Linked DNA regions of Homo sapiens: region 2 is linked to region 1. Evidence: promoter capture Hi-C in 16 types of primary human blood cells and fetal thymus (Javierre and others, 2016). All regions are on one chromosome and are shown on one strand. Each heading gives the region's core, a stretch centred on a gene start or on the middle of the fragment in contact. The rest is flanking DNA. Distances are from core to core; before and after follow the strand shown.

Region 1 (6,273 bases), core at 1,938-4,437:
TGCCTTCCGTCCAGCATCCTCACCTCGGCCAAGGTGCGGGGATCTACCGTGCTCCCCTCCTGGGCTTGACCTGGCTTCTCCTTAGTGCTCACTGGAATCCCTCCAGCCCCCACCACAACCCCTTCCCCGGGAAACCACTATCTGTGTTCTGTCATTACAGACTTGTTTGCATTTTTAAGAATATGATATACATGAAATCATACAGAATGCATTTTTGGTTTGGTCTGGATTCTTTTGCCCACCATAATTACTGCGACAGCTGACACACCACGGTGTACACAGACTGTCCCCTCCTGTTCCCACTCACCTGCTGTGGCTATCTGGGCTGTTGACAGGTTTTGGCTATTCTGAATAAAGCTGCTATGAACATTCAGTCTTAGTGTGGAATGTGCTTTCATTTCTCTTAAGTAAATACTGAAGAGGGAAACGGCTGGGTGATACGGTGTGTGTATTTTCAACGTTTTTTTTAAGACCTCCATGTTTTCGCATGTTTTACATTTCCAGCACTAACACGACGGCTGCAGTGCTACCACCGCCTCCCCAGCGCTTGCCACGGTCGTCTTCATAGGTCCAACTGACTGGTTTCCTCTTATAGTGGTTTCTGCTTTTGGTGTCATATTTAAAGAAAGAAGTCCTGTGTGATCTTGTGGAAGCTGCATGGTTCTAGCTCTTACGCTAGGTCTATGATCCAGTTCAAGCTAAATTTTCATGTGGTTTCAAGTAACAATTGAAGTGAGTTTTTTGCAAACGGCCCTCTAATTGCTACAGCACCCTTTGTGGAAAAGATCATTCACTCACTGCTGAAGTCCACTGATACCTCTGACAAAGATCAATAGTGGGCCACTTTCTAGACTCTCCATAATGTTCTGTGATCTGTTTATCTGGTTTTATGCCAATACTATACTGATTTAATTATTGAGATTCAAAGAAGTCTTAATCAGGTAGTATAAGGACTCCATCTTTATTCATGTTCAAAGTTGTTTTGGCCCATTCTAATTCCTTTACATTTACATATACATTTTAGAACCAGCTTAATTTCTACCAAAAAAAAAAGTCTGCTCAGATTTTGATTAGTAATGCACTGAATCTTTACATCAATTTGGGGAGAAATGACATCTTAACAAGATTGAGTCTTCTGATCCATGAACATAGTATATCTCTCCATTTATTTAGATCTTATTTAATTTCTCTGAGCAATATATCATAGTTCTCAGTATACAGGTCTTACACATCTTGACCTAATTTATTCCTAAATATTTCATATTTTTGATGCTATTATAAATGGTAATGTTATTTACATTTCAATTTCCAACGGCATCATTTACAAGTTGACAGCTTACAAGCCACTAACTACATAAAGAGATTCTGAAGACATAATCAAAATATTTTTATGTTAGTAAGACCCTTCTGACTATTCATGAAAGCACTTCATTTTGCCTTTTTCTTCCTGAAGGAGGTATTGTCCTCATCACTTTCAATGTAGGCAATTCAGTAAAGTTGATCTCAAGCATCAAACAATTTACACATGGTGCTGGATTGTGTTTTTGAAACCATATCACGAAGAGGTGGGAGCATGCAGCTGGGGACACAGAGAGACCTGGCTGGATTGTGGGTGGGGGCATTGTGCAAGGGAGAGATGCAGGCCTCATTCCAGGACTGGCTATGCTCCATCCGGCATCCTCATCTTGGCCAAGGTGCAGGGATCTGGTTTTCCTCCCTCCTGGGTTTGACCCTACTTCTCTTTAGTGCTCAGTATGGGACACTGCCCTAGTTTTAGGCTTAAAGGAATCAGAGTCAAAAAAATAAATGTGCACCAATATGGATCACCACTTCTGGTCCTCTCTGTGCATTTACTTCAATAAGAATTTAAAAGGTAGATATCAGAGGACTCTACGTTTGAAACAACACACTTGTCCCTTCTCCATCTTCCCCCAGTTCTGACTGCCTCACCTCTCTCCCTGAACTCTGTAATGGTCCCCACTGACTACCTAATCACATTCAAATTTCTTTACCTGATACTCAAAGGACAGTCAAGATTCTAGGCTCTTCTCTCACCGTGAATGGCATCCAGACAGCCTCTGCTCAGACACCAGAGCCTCTGCTCAGACACCAGAGCCACTCCCACCTGTTGCTGACACAGGTGCCTCACCGCACCAGATCACAAACTGGCACACCACCTTCTTGTCAGTGCTACCTCCTCCTGCAGGTCTTGTTTGATGTCACCATCAACAGAAGGAGTCTCTTCCTCCTAAGAAGTTTCCTGGAATTTTGTTTTTTAAAAGCTAGTAACACACACACACACGAGTTCTGCAAGGCACACTATGAAAACAGTAGCTCCTGTCCACTTCAGTCTTCTAGTTCCCAGAGGCAATTATTTTCTTTTGATTGTTTTCTTTTGGTATTTATCTCCATACCTCTAAAGCTTATATTGCCACTTCTTGATTTTCCAGTTTTCAACATTGATTTTTCAATTTTTCCATGCTGGAAGAAGAGGATTTAACTACTTTCTACTATCTTTCCCCGTCACTCAATATCACACACACACTCCATCTCTCACCCCCACCCTCTCAATATTTTCACTTAAATCAATAATCAATATTTACATCATTATAATGTGCCGTGTGTCACGCATTGGCAGACGTCAGAACGTGCCGTGGGCCACGCGTCGGCGGAGCGCGGGAACGTGCCGTGGGTCACGCGTCGGCGGAGCATGAGAATGTGTTGTGTCACGTGTCATGTGCCATGTCACAGGGAGTATGCCGCGTGTCATGTGTTGTATGTCACATGTCATGTGTCAGGAGCTGCAGGCTGCATGTCCTCAGGTTTCTGGAGCCCAGCTGACAGCACTGGATCCTGTTGTGGGCATCTGGCTCTGTGATGAGGCACTGGCCTTCTCCATGCTCCACCTCCCAGGGCAGGCAGCCATGAAGCCGTGCAGACCTGACTCGGGACAGTGCTGGGGAGGAGGCCCTGGTGAGTGCCAGGCAAGGTTGCCGCCTGCCAAGTGGGTTGTTCTCCTGATCCGGCCCTTGCTGTGGGCCTGCGTGCAGAGGTCTCCTCTGCAGGGGACGGTGGGTGTGCATCAGCCACGGCGCTCAGCACAGAATACCCATGGCTGTGCAGCAGCTGGACCAGGGCATGTTGAATGAATGGACTGCCATGGGAGCTGCTCGCTGAGAAGGAACACTGGATAACCTGGGCACGGTCATCCTTCAAAAGCCTCAGCTTAGACAGCAGCGCCTCCAGACCCGCGTCCGTGGATGCACCCCACAGGGACCTCATGGCCAGCACTGCCCACCACTCCCGCCTCACCCAGAGCTAGGGAACCCTCTGCCCATGGTCCCATGGCTAGATGGCCAGGACCAGCCCCAGAGCTACGGGCCAATGGCAGCTCTCCATCTTTCCAGTTCTGGACCCTTCCAAGGCTGCTCTCAGCAAGGTGCCTTTCTCAGTGCTCCAGCTCCTGACAGGACTTCCTGCTTCCTCAGCCCCAGGCCTCAATCTGAACCCCTGTGCCTCTGAGTCTGCCTGACACCTACAGGAGCACAGACAGGTCTCCCCGGAAGTTTGGAGAACACTGGCGTGGGGAGTGGCACCTGCAGAGCTGGGGACCCACCTAGGCATCTTCGCCTCCTGGGCTGCTCATCCCCAGGGCCCAGGTCGGTAGCCTTGGTGGCTGGCAGCTTCCACTGTGGACGGCAGCTGACTCCAGGTGATGGCAGAAGGAGCTTCCCAGGCAGCCTGTTGAGCACCCACGAGGAAGCGCAGATGCTGGCGGCACCTATCTTTTCAAACTGCCCCAGGCCCGACGCCTTCCACTCTCCTGCCGGGTGCATGGAGCCACCGGGAGCAGCCGGCGGCCTTGGTGGTCTTGGCAGTCTCGGCGGTCTTGGTGGCTTTGGCGGTCTCAGCAGTCTCGGTGGTCTTGGTGGCCTTTCGAAAGGAAAGCTTCTCAAGAGACATACAACCCAGCCTCCTTGGAGCCCAGAGGGCCTAGAGCATCCGTGCCCAGAGACCACCCAGCTGCGGGCAGCTTGCAGACACCCGGGCACCCATGAGCACCCCCGGGGGGCCGGCGGACTCAGCCCTGTGTGTAAACAGATCGACACGCGTCAAGGCTGCATCCAAGGCCCGGCCTGCAGCCAGGAAACACCCGTCTGCTCAGAACGCACGGAGCCGACCATGAAATTAACCTCATGGCAATTGTTTTCCCACCCGTTTGATAGCCCAATGTCAGCTCATCTGTTAGAAGGAAATAAAAGAGTCAAGCCTAAATGTACAAAAAATTATGATGGAAGGTCCTAAATAAAGCAGGCTTATGGAGTCAAACATCAATCCATCAATAAGGGAGTGGATTAGGAGCACCTCATAAGCCCCAAAGAAATAATGTGCCCAAACACTGGGATTTCACAGTGGAGGACCAAATTCCAACACTTTTAGGAAGTAAATAATGAAAAATCAATTCAAAGAAAAAACAGATCAAGAACCCTGGACTCTGACACATTTATTGCTGAATACCATTTCTCGGCTGACCCAAAAACTTCGGAAGGTGTTTATTTACTTTCAACACCTTCCAGAGATCAATATTTTTAATTTGGATCCGAGTTATTATTTTTCACATCACAGCAGCGGGGAGCGGAGTAAAGTGGCTCATATTTTAGTGCTAAAAAGATCGATATGACAGTTTCACCTTCACTGCAGCCCCAGCCGCACATCATCGCGTCCCACGGGACTGCAGGTGCTGGGGCCGGGGAGCAGGTCATTACCTGCCCGCTGAGGAGACAGCCCGTGATTTAGGGGAGCATGAAGGGCCCGGTGCCCTCAGAAAACCAATCTCGCCCCCTCTCACTTCATCAGGACTGTCTTGCCCCCAGGCAGGTGAGGAGGCAGCGAGCCCCAGGGCAGGGCTGGAGCCCTAAGGCAGATGAGCTTCCTCATCATAAACGCGTTTGCCTTTCCTTCCCCTTCTCTGGATCAAAGAACATCCGTAAACTCCATCAATTTTCCATAAATTCTCCCTAAAGTCTTATTTAGGAGAACGAGAGTGGAAGGGGGAGCTCACAGAGGAGGAGGAGGGAAAGCAGAAGGGCCTCTCCCAGGAAGCAGCGGGCCTCTCATTCCTGGGCCACCGCTGGGTACTGGGGCCCCCCACCCCAAGAGCACCAGGGCCACTGCCTGGGGGCCATGCCGAGAGCCTGCCTCTTACAGACTACAGAGCTGGGGGTGGGGGCTGTGAGCTGCCGTGCACAGCACTTGCAAAGGGCATCTGTGCCCCACTTCACTCTCCACAGACCCAGCCGCGGGGGAGGCAGACCCTGCTCTGCAGGAGGCCAGAGCCCCTGGAAAAGCCTAGAAGCCACCAAGGCGCGAGCAGAGTCCACCATGGCAGTGCTTGCAGGTCACTCATGGTGCCAGCAGAGACCTGCCCTCCGAGGTGCAAAGGCAGCGCTAGCGGGTGGGAGAGGGGTAAGCCCCCGGTTGGTGACCAGCGGCCACGTGCTGTGGCCACTCTGCCCAGCAGGCCTTGCAGGCTCATAGTTCTGCTCCGAGCCCAAGAGCCTTGAGTGAGCAGGCGGCGCAGCTTAGCAAGTGCATGGGGCCATCCTGGCTGAGGCAGCCTCCTGCCTCTGGGGCTACTCCACACGGAGGTCTCCTACACAAGGAGCTCAGACTTCACTCTCTCTTCCTCAACGCCTCGGCTTGTGGCTGCCCCAGACCCAACTAGGTCATCGGACCCCAGGCTCAGGCCTGCCCAAGTCCCCACACAGCCCTGTCGCTGCTGTCTGCCCAGAGACTCCTGGCACATGGGGTCCCACGGTTCCCCACATGCACCATCTGGGCTGAGTGCCCAGGCCTGTGGAGCCCTGCTGCATAGGGAAGGGTGCACACGCCTCCGGGCCACCTGAGCAGCTGTGGAAGGGTCTGCACCGCCCTGGGCCCCTCCAAACTGTCTCCAGCTGCTGCATGTGAAAAATCCTCTCAGGAGCCCGGGGCAACCCTGCTTGGTGCCCTTCAGGACCGGCTCACCTGGCCCAGCTGGCTGGCTGCACCTCCAACCCCTCCTTCTGTCTATGTGGCCACAGAGGGGCTCAGGCAAGAGGCGAGGTGGGGCAGCCCGCACAGCCACCTCCTGTCCCCAGCCGCTCCTCCAACCCCCTCTTCTGCTGACTCCTTGACTCCAGCTGGGGTCCTGTGCAGCAGGTACCTTCCCAAGCAGGGGGGACCCTCCGAGGAGCAGGCACTCTCTGAGCAGGCACAGCTGGCGGGGGCAGG
Region 2 (6,468 bases), core at 1-2,500, 260 kb after region 1:
ATGGTGGAGGGGATGGCAGCTCCCAGGTGGCGATTCTCACCCCCCGAGTGTCCCTCCATCCTGCCCGTGCACTCCCAGCGGTAGCCCACACGGAGCGGGCAGGAACCACACGGGAGCCATATGTTAAATCACGTGACTTGTGGATAAATGGCTTCTGGCACATCTAATGAAGAGATAACGTCTGCGAAATAATTGTGGAAGGAACACGGTCCTCTCTGCTAATTCATGTCACCAGGCAAAAATCTGGGCTCCACGGATGGAAAAAGTTGGGCCTTTACAAGAGGAGCCTTTCCCTGCTCCCAGTTTCAAAAGAAAGCCCTGCAGGAGCGCAGCGAGGCCACAGCCTGATTCATGCCTAATCATTGATCTGGCAGCGACAGCTCCCTGCCATGTGACGCGGTGTCCAGGAGGCTCATCTGCACCGCATGGGTCCCTGCAGCCCGTGCACAGGTGCCTCTCAGGAGGAACCGCCCCGCCCTGCCCTGCGCCCCCCACCCAGGAAGCCAGGGCTCCCGGGGGATGTGCCCACGGCTCCCACAGCTTGTACCTCTTCACGCCCCCATGACTCAGGGCTCCCTGGCCTGAAACTGTTCTTAAATCGCACAGCTGGGCGCAACTGCTCTCCCCGAATCCAAACCTCAGCCGCGGAGTCACTCCCAGCAGCCAGGGGCCCGTGGCCTTCGACAGGGCACCCCCACCTGTGAGGAACTGCCAGGGCAAGGCCACGGCGCATCTGACCCTCCCCTGCTTTAACGACAATTCTGCCAACAGTCGAATTCAACAGTGGCTCTGAACAAAGAAAAGTGCATTAATTATGGCAGATGTGTGGAGTTCCGGGACCCCGGCCCCGCGCCCCCCGCCCCGGCCCGCCCCGGCCCGGCGCCCGCCCCGAAAAGTCGCGACGACTTTGAGAACCACTTTTGCCCCCCCGAGTGGCGGCCGCGCTCGCGCGCCCCGAAACTCAGGCTCGGCAGAAACCGAAAGCGGGCGCCGGGGCCACGCCACCCCCAACCCGGAGGCGGGTCCCGGGTCTCCGGGCGGCGGAGGCGGGTGTCGCGTGGGGACCCCGGGGGTGTCCCGGCCCGCGCCCCCGCTCACTTTTTCGTGCAGTCCAGCAGGATCCCCGCGAAGCTCCGCTCGCCGCAGCTCACCGTGACCACCAGCGCGCCGTTGACGACCTGCTCCACCCGCACCGGCAGCCGGCAGCCGGCGCGCGGCTCCATGCTCCCGCCGCGTCCCAGGCCGCCCCCGCCCCGCCGCCGCCGCCGCCGCCGCCGCCGCCGCCGGGTCAGCCCCGCGCGTGACGCCGCCCCGCGGCCGCCTGACGTCACAAAGCTCCGCTGGGGCGGCCGCCACAGCCGAGCCGAGCCGGGCCGGGGGCGCGCGGCCGCGGGCTCCGCTCCCGGGGACCCCGCCCGCCGCCGCCGCGTCCCGGGAGAAGCCGCGCCCGCCCGCAGAGGTCGGCCGGACGCGCGGTGCGGACCCCCGGGCTGGAGAGGGGGCTGCGCCCGGGCTCGCGGCCCACGCTGGCCGGGAGTGTCCCCTGGCTCGGGAGGACCCGAGAGCCACGAGCCCGGGGGCGGCGGGGGGGACACCCGCCGCGGCCGGAGCCCCGGGACCCCATCCCCCCGCTCCCCTGCCTGGGGCCGGTCCCGGGCCCCCCTCCCCCTCCGGGCCCAGCCCTGCGCCCTCCCTCCCTCCCCGGTGGCCCGGATCCTCCCGCCTGGGGTCGGCCGCCCGCGTGTCCCGGCAGCGCCCCGCGCTGGGCTCTGGTGGCCCCGGGCACTGCGGCGAGGAAGTCCCGGGCGGCGCGCGCAGGAAGCCGGGGCAGGCGGAGGGGACGCGGGGCGCCCGGGGGCAGCGGCCTAGTGTCGCCCTCGCCGCGTGGGGGGCGGGACACTGGGTCGCCCCACTGGGCTCGGCGCCTCTCGGGGCGACAAGCGGGCGCGCGCCCGGCTCAGGGCCACCCTGCGCGCCTGGGGGTGGCCGGCACCGGGGCCCGGGGGGTTAACTCCCTCCGGAGGTCTCGGGCGTGTCTCTTCGGGTTGCCGGGCCCAGGGGCCAGGCGCGCCTCCGCCAGTTTACAAAGGAAACAGCCTCCTTCCCCCGCGGCAGGGGCTCCCCGACCCGCGGGCGAGGAGTGGGAGGTGACGGCGCCGGACCCCCTTCCCCCAGGCGCCCGGCTCCCGCGCCTTCAGGCGTCAAAGCCCCCGACTTCCCCGAGCACCAGCACGTCCGCACCCGGCTCAGAACGCAGGGGCCCGGCCTGCTGCGGTGACCTTGGCCCCGGGCCGGGCTTCTGAGCCGGACTTGCAGCGCCTGACGAGGCCTGGAGGCGGGGCGGGGGACCGCGTAGTTGTCCTGGCGACCCAGCGCCGCCGGGCAGGGCTCCTCCCAGCCTGGGAATTGAGGACCACCGCCCCTGGTGCCACTGGGGACCGTCGGGTCGCTGGCGCCTGTCGACCTCGCCCTCCGGCGGCCGCGCGGCAGTGGGAGCCTCAGAGAGGAGCCAGGGCGGAGTGAGGGAGCCCGCGGGGCCTGGGACACCTGACCGTCCGGCTAGAACAGGGGTAGGGACCGAGGCCGAATGAGCCAGAGTTCTGGCCGGGGACAGTCCCAGAGGAGGCCTGGAAGCCCAGTGAGTGTCTGTCCTCCTCTGTGTGGCCTGGGGCTCCCGCCAACACTAAGCCCTTCCTGGGGCCTCAGGCACCTCAAGGCGCCCCGTTCTCCAGGGTCAGCCAGCCCCTGCCCACTGGTTGCCAGGCTTGCAGTGGAGCCTGCCTGCTGTCCTGCCCACAGGCCTCTGCAGCTGCCCCCTCCAGGGGTGGGGCTGACTTTGGAGGAAAAATGCCAGGCAGCAGGGACCCCCTCGCCACCCTGCTCCAGGTTGGGCTGAGCGGCCATCCTGAGGCTGCCCACTTGCTTGGCTCTTCTTCCTGCCTGCTGGAGAGGCCTGCTGGGCACTGCCCTTTCTGAGCATTGGGGACTGCCAGGGTGAATCAGCATTCAGGCTGGTGGGGCCAGCATGGGGTGGGGCTAATGCACAGGGGGCTGTATGTGGGTGGAGGGATCCAGAAAGAGTGTCCAGGGGAGCACCAGCATTCACCAGGGCCCCACCAGGTGGGCAAAAGCAAGGGCTTCCGAGGTGGGGGTGGGGGTGGGCAGGATCCTCTGCAAGGTGTCTGCGTGCGCCTGGGGCTCCTGGTGACTTCCCACGCCAGCAGGAGGAACAGTTTGGGGTGTGCTGAGGGACCCACCTGTGGACTTGCTGGGCTTTGAGAGGAACCAAGGCTGGGTGGCGGCGGGCAGGACAGGGGAAGAGGGTTCCGGGGCACAGAGGGCCAGACAGATGCACCCAGCAGCTGGCAGCTCTGGCTGGAGAGGGGAAGAGGGCAGTGAGAAGCACGGCTGGCCCATGGTACCTCCTGCCCCTCTGCCCTGCCCGCCTTCCCTCTGCCCTGCCCACCTTCCCTCTGCCCTGCCCGCCTTCCCTCTGCCTCTTCCCCTCTGGCCCGTGCTATTTACTGTGTATTGTTAAGTGAACTTGGAAGCCGTTTTTAAAACCTGCTCTCCACTAGGTAAGGTATAAAAAAGACCATCTGCAGACAGGGAGACCATTTTTGCAACTTAAACGGTGGCTGTTCAGGGCCTCCCCCAGCAGCCCTGCCCCCGCACCTGCTCCCACTTGCTTCCCGCCCCGCTCCAACCTGCTTGTTGAAGAAGAGGCCATGGGAGTTTCCAGAGTCCCCGATTAAAGTGCAGGTGTCCTTGGGGACCTCATCAGCCCAGGTATCCCCTCCTGTCTGACCCTGTATTCGGGGGTTGGGAGGCTGTCCTAGGCTTGCTGCTCTGAGCATCTCCCCAGAGGCCACCCTGCTCATGCCAGTCAGTGAGGTCTGCCCAGTTCTGGGAAGCACCCTGGGTACTGGGGCTGGTGCTGCCCACAGTGAGAGGACCCTGAGCTGCCTGGCTGGGCTGGAGAGGAGCCTCGGGAGTACGCCCCTGGCTGGGGTGAAAAGGCCAAGAGTGGGAAGAGACACCTCCGAGGTCTTTAGACTTTGTCTTCAAGAGACTTGATCCAAACAAAAGGTCCTAAAGCCTTTGGTCCTCTGGCTGTAGGCACAGCCGCAGCAAGGCCTAGGACATGCCCAGCTCGGGACGGCCCAGCCAGTCAGATGGGGTAAGCCAAGGGGACAGGAGAGTGTCCGGAACTTCCACCGGGGCTGGGGGTGGGTGACCAGCAGTTGGCAGGATGGGTGGCCTGAAGGGGTACAGTTGAGGGAGGGACAGGTGGCTGGAGGAGGAAGCAGGGGCTGGCCTCTATGTCCCCTGAGACAGCAGGGGAGGAAGGCAGGAACCCCGCAGGCCACCTCCCCTCAGGGTCTGCCTCCCCTGCGGTCCTTGGAGGAACTCCAGGATTTGTCCTCCCTGGCAGCCTGGCTCACTTGCATCACCAGCTCCATGCCCGCCCCTCGTCTTTCAGGGTCGCTCCCCCAGGTCCGAGCTTAGAGGGCCCTCCTGACTGCTGGACCTGGACCTGCCCAGCACTGTCCTACCGCACTACATCATCACTGAGACTTGGGAAGGGCAGTGGTGAGCAGGTTCTCAGCCTTTGTTGGTCTCTTCCACGAGATGAGGCTTACAGCGGCCTCCCCATGACTGAGGTGCAGCCACAGCCTGGCCTGTGTCCAGCCTGCTCCAGAATCACCTGGTATCCCCCCAACCCCCAACACACCTGGGCTTGCTTGATCTTACTGGAGCTCACCAGGGCCTGGCTGTGTGCAAGTCTCATGCAGCATAGTGAGGTGCTCCTGAGATGCATCGAAGGTGTCTGGTCAAGATGGAGGCCTCGCAGGACACAGCCATGAGTCAGAGACCACAGATTTCTCCAGAGCTGGTGCCCAGAGGCCAAAGGCAGGGATGGGCCTTGAGGCTGGGACCCAGGTCGCCTCATGGCAAGCCTTTTGCCCACAGCAGCTGTGGAAGGCAGGAGACAGGATAAAGCCTTTAATACAGAGGGCCTGCTCTGATTTCAGTAAGCAACCATTCATCACTCAAGAAGCCTGGACAGACTAGGGAGCAGGAGCACGCCAGGCCTCCTCCAAGGTGTCTGGCAGGGAGGCCGGCCTGGGGAACACACTCCTTGTCCCTTGTCGTGTCGTCTGAGGCAGGGGCTCAAGGCAATCTTTGCAGATGCTGAGCCAGGAACCCTCGACCTTCTAGCAGGCCACAGATCCTTTGGGCAGTGTTTGTTTTGTTCTGCTCCAGTCTGGAAGCCCTTGGAGGGCAGTGTGGGTCTACAAGGCCAACTTTGTCTTGTCTGTTCTGGAGCTGTCTCCCTGCCCCTTGGGTTATCAGGATGATATAGGGTCACATCCCCTGAGGCAGTATCTCAAAGGACCGGCTGGGAACAGAACCTGCCAAGACTCCACTCGAGGTGGTGCAGAGAGCTGGGCAGGCACATAAACTCTGAGGCCAAACTGCTAGAGTCCTGCCATGTGACCTTGGGGAGACTGCCACCTCCCTTGTGCCTCAGTGTCCTCATCTGTAAAGTGGGAAATATGATGGTACCTACCGTGTAGCCTCGTACTGAATATTAAATGAGTTAATATTAAATGAGATACTTAGTACAGCACAAGCCCCAGTAAAGCTTCCATGAGTTAGCTGCCATCACCATCATCAACACTTTTGTCATTATCAGCATCACCATCACCACCACAGTCTCCACCATCACCGCTACAGCCATCATCACCATGAGCATTACCATCCCACCTCCCCCATCACTACCACCACCATCACCATCACCATTGTCACCACCGTCACCATCATCACCATCACCATCACCATCATCACCACCATCACCATCATCACCATCACCATCATCACCATTACCACCACCCCCATCACCACTACCATCACCATCACCATTATCACATCACCATCATCACCATCACCATTATCACCACCACCACCTCCACCATCACCATCACCACTACTGCCATCATCATCATGATCACCATCCCACCTCCCCCATCACTACTACCACCATCACCATCACCATCATGACCACCATGACTATCATCAGTATCACCCCACCACCATCACTATCACCATCACCATTGCAACCACCATCACACCACCATCACCATTATCACTGTCACTGCCACCACCATCTCCACTATCATCACCATCACACCACCACCACCATCCCCACCATTGTCACCATCACCACCATGACTATCACCACCACCATCACCACCATCACACCTACCATCACCACTACTATCAGCATCATCACCACCACCGCCATCACCATATCACCATCACCATTATCACCAGCAAAATGATCACCACCACCACCACTCTCATGATACTTGTATAGCTGGGCCCTCAGTGGGATCCTCGGGTACACCTGAGGCCTTGTGCTATGCTCAGGGCCAGGTAGGAGATGCAAACCCTGTGCCCACA

What was found. The method cuts DNA at HindIII sites, captures the fragments that hold promoters and counts their contacts. A CHiCAGO score of 5 or more calls a contact.
Region 2: the fragment with the promoter of PWWP2B here is called in contact with a fragment that was not itself captured in region 1 in 6 of 17 cell types (total B cells, M0 macrophages, naive CD4 T cells and 3 more); the score reaches 7.7 in total B cells.

The regions. Positions count from the first base shown.
Region 1 is chr10:132,656,438-132,662,710 of GRCh38, reverse strand. The region is part of intron 4 of INPP5A (inositol polyphosphate-5-phosphatase A); the gene reads right to left. Among named protein-coding and RNA genes, the nearest start is that of INPP5A, 120 kb to the right of the region's middle. The HindIII fragment of the contact is 1,526 bases long and covers 2,425-3,950 here.
Region 2 is chr10:132,391,982-132,398,449 of GRCh38, reverse strand. It overlaps PWWP2B (PWWP domain containing 2B), which reads right to left and starts at 1,250. Exons shown (of 3, transcript NM_138499.4): 1 at 1,099-1,250. The coding sequence starts at 1,223. LOC124902526 (a long non-coding RNA gene) reads left to right here and starts at 1,894. Exons shown (of 2, transcript XR_007062342.1): 1 at 1,894-3,789; 2 at 4,120-5,635. RefSeq lists enhancers at 1-192, 193-715, 2,286-2,808, 2,809-3,332 and silencers at 978-1,117, 1,128-1,237, 1,648-2,077, 2,098-2,477. The HindIII fragment of the contact is 15,859 bases long and covers 1-5,652 here.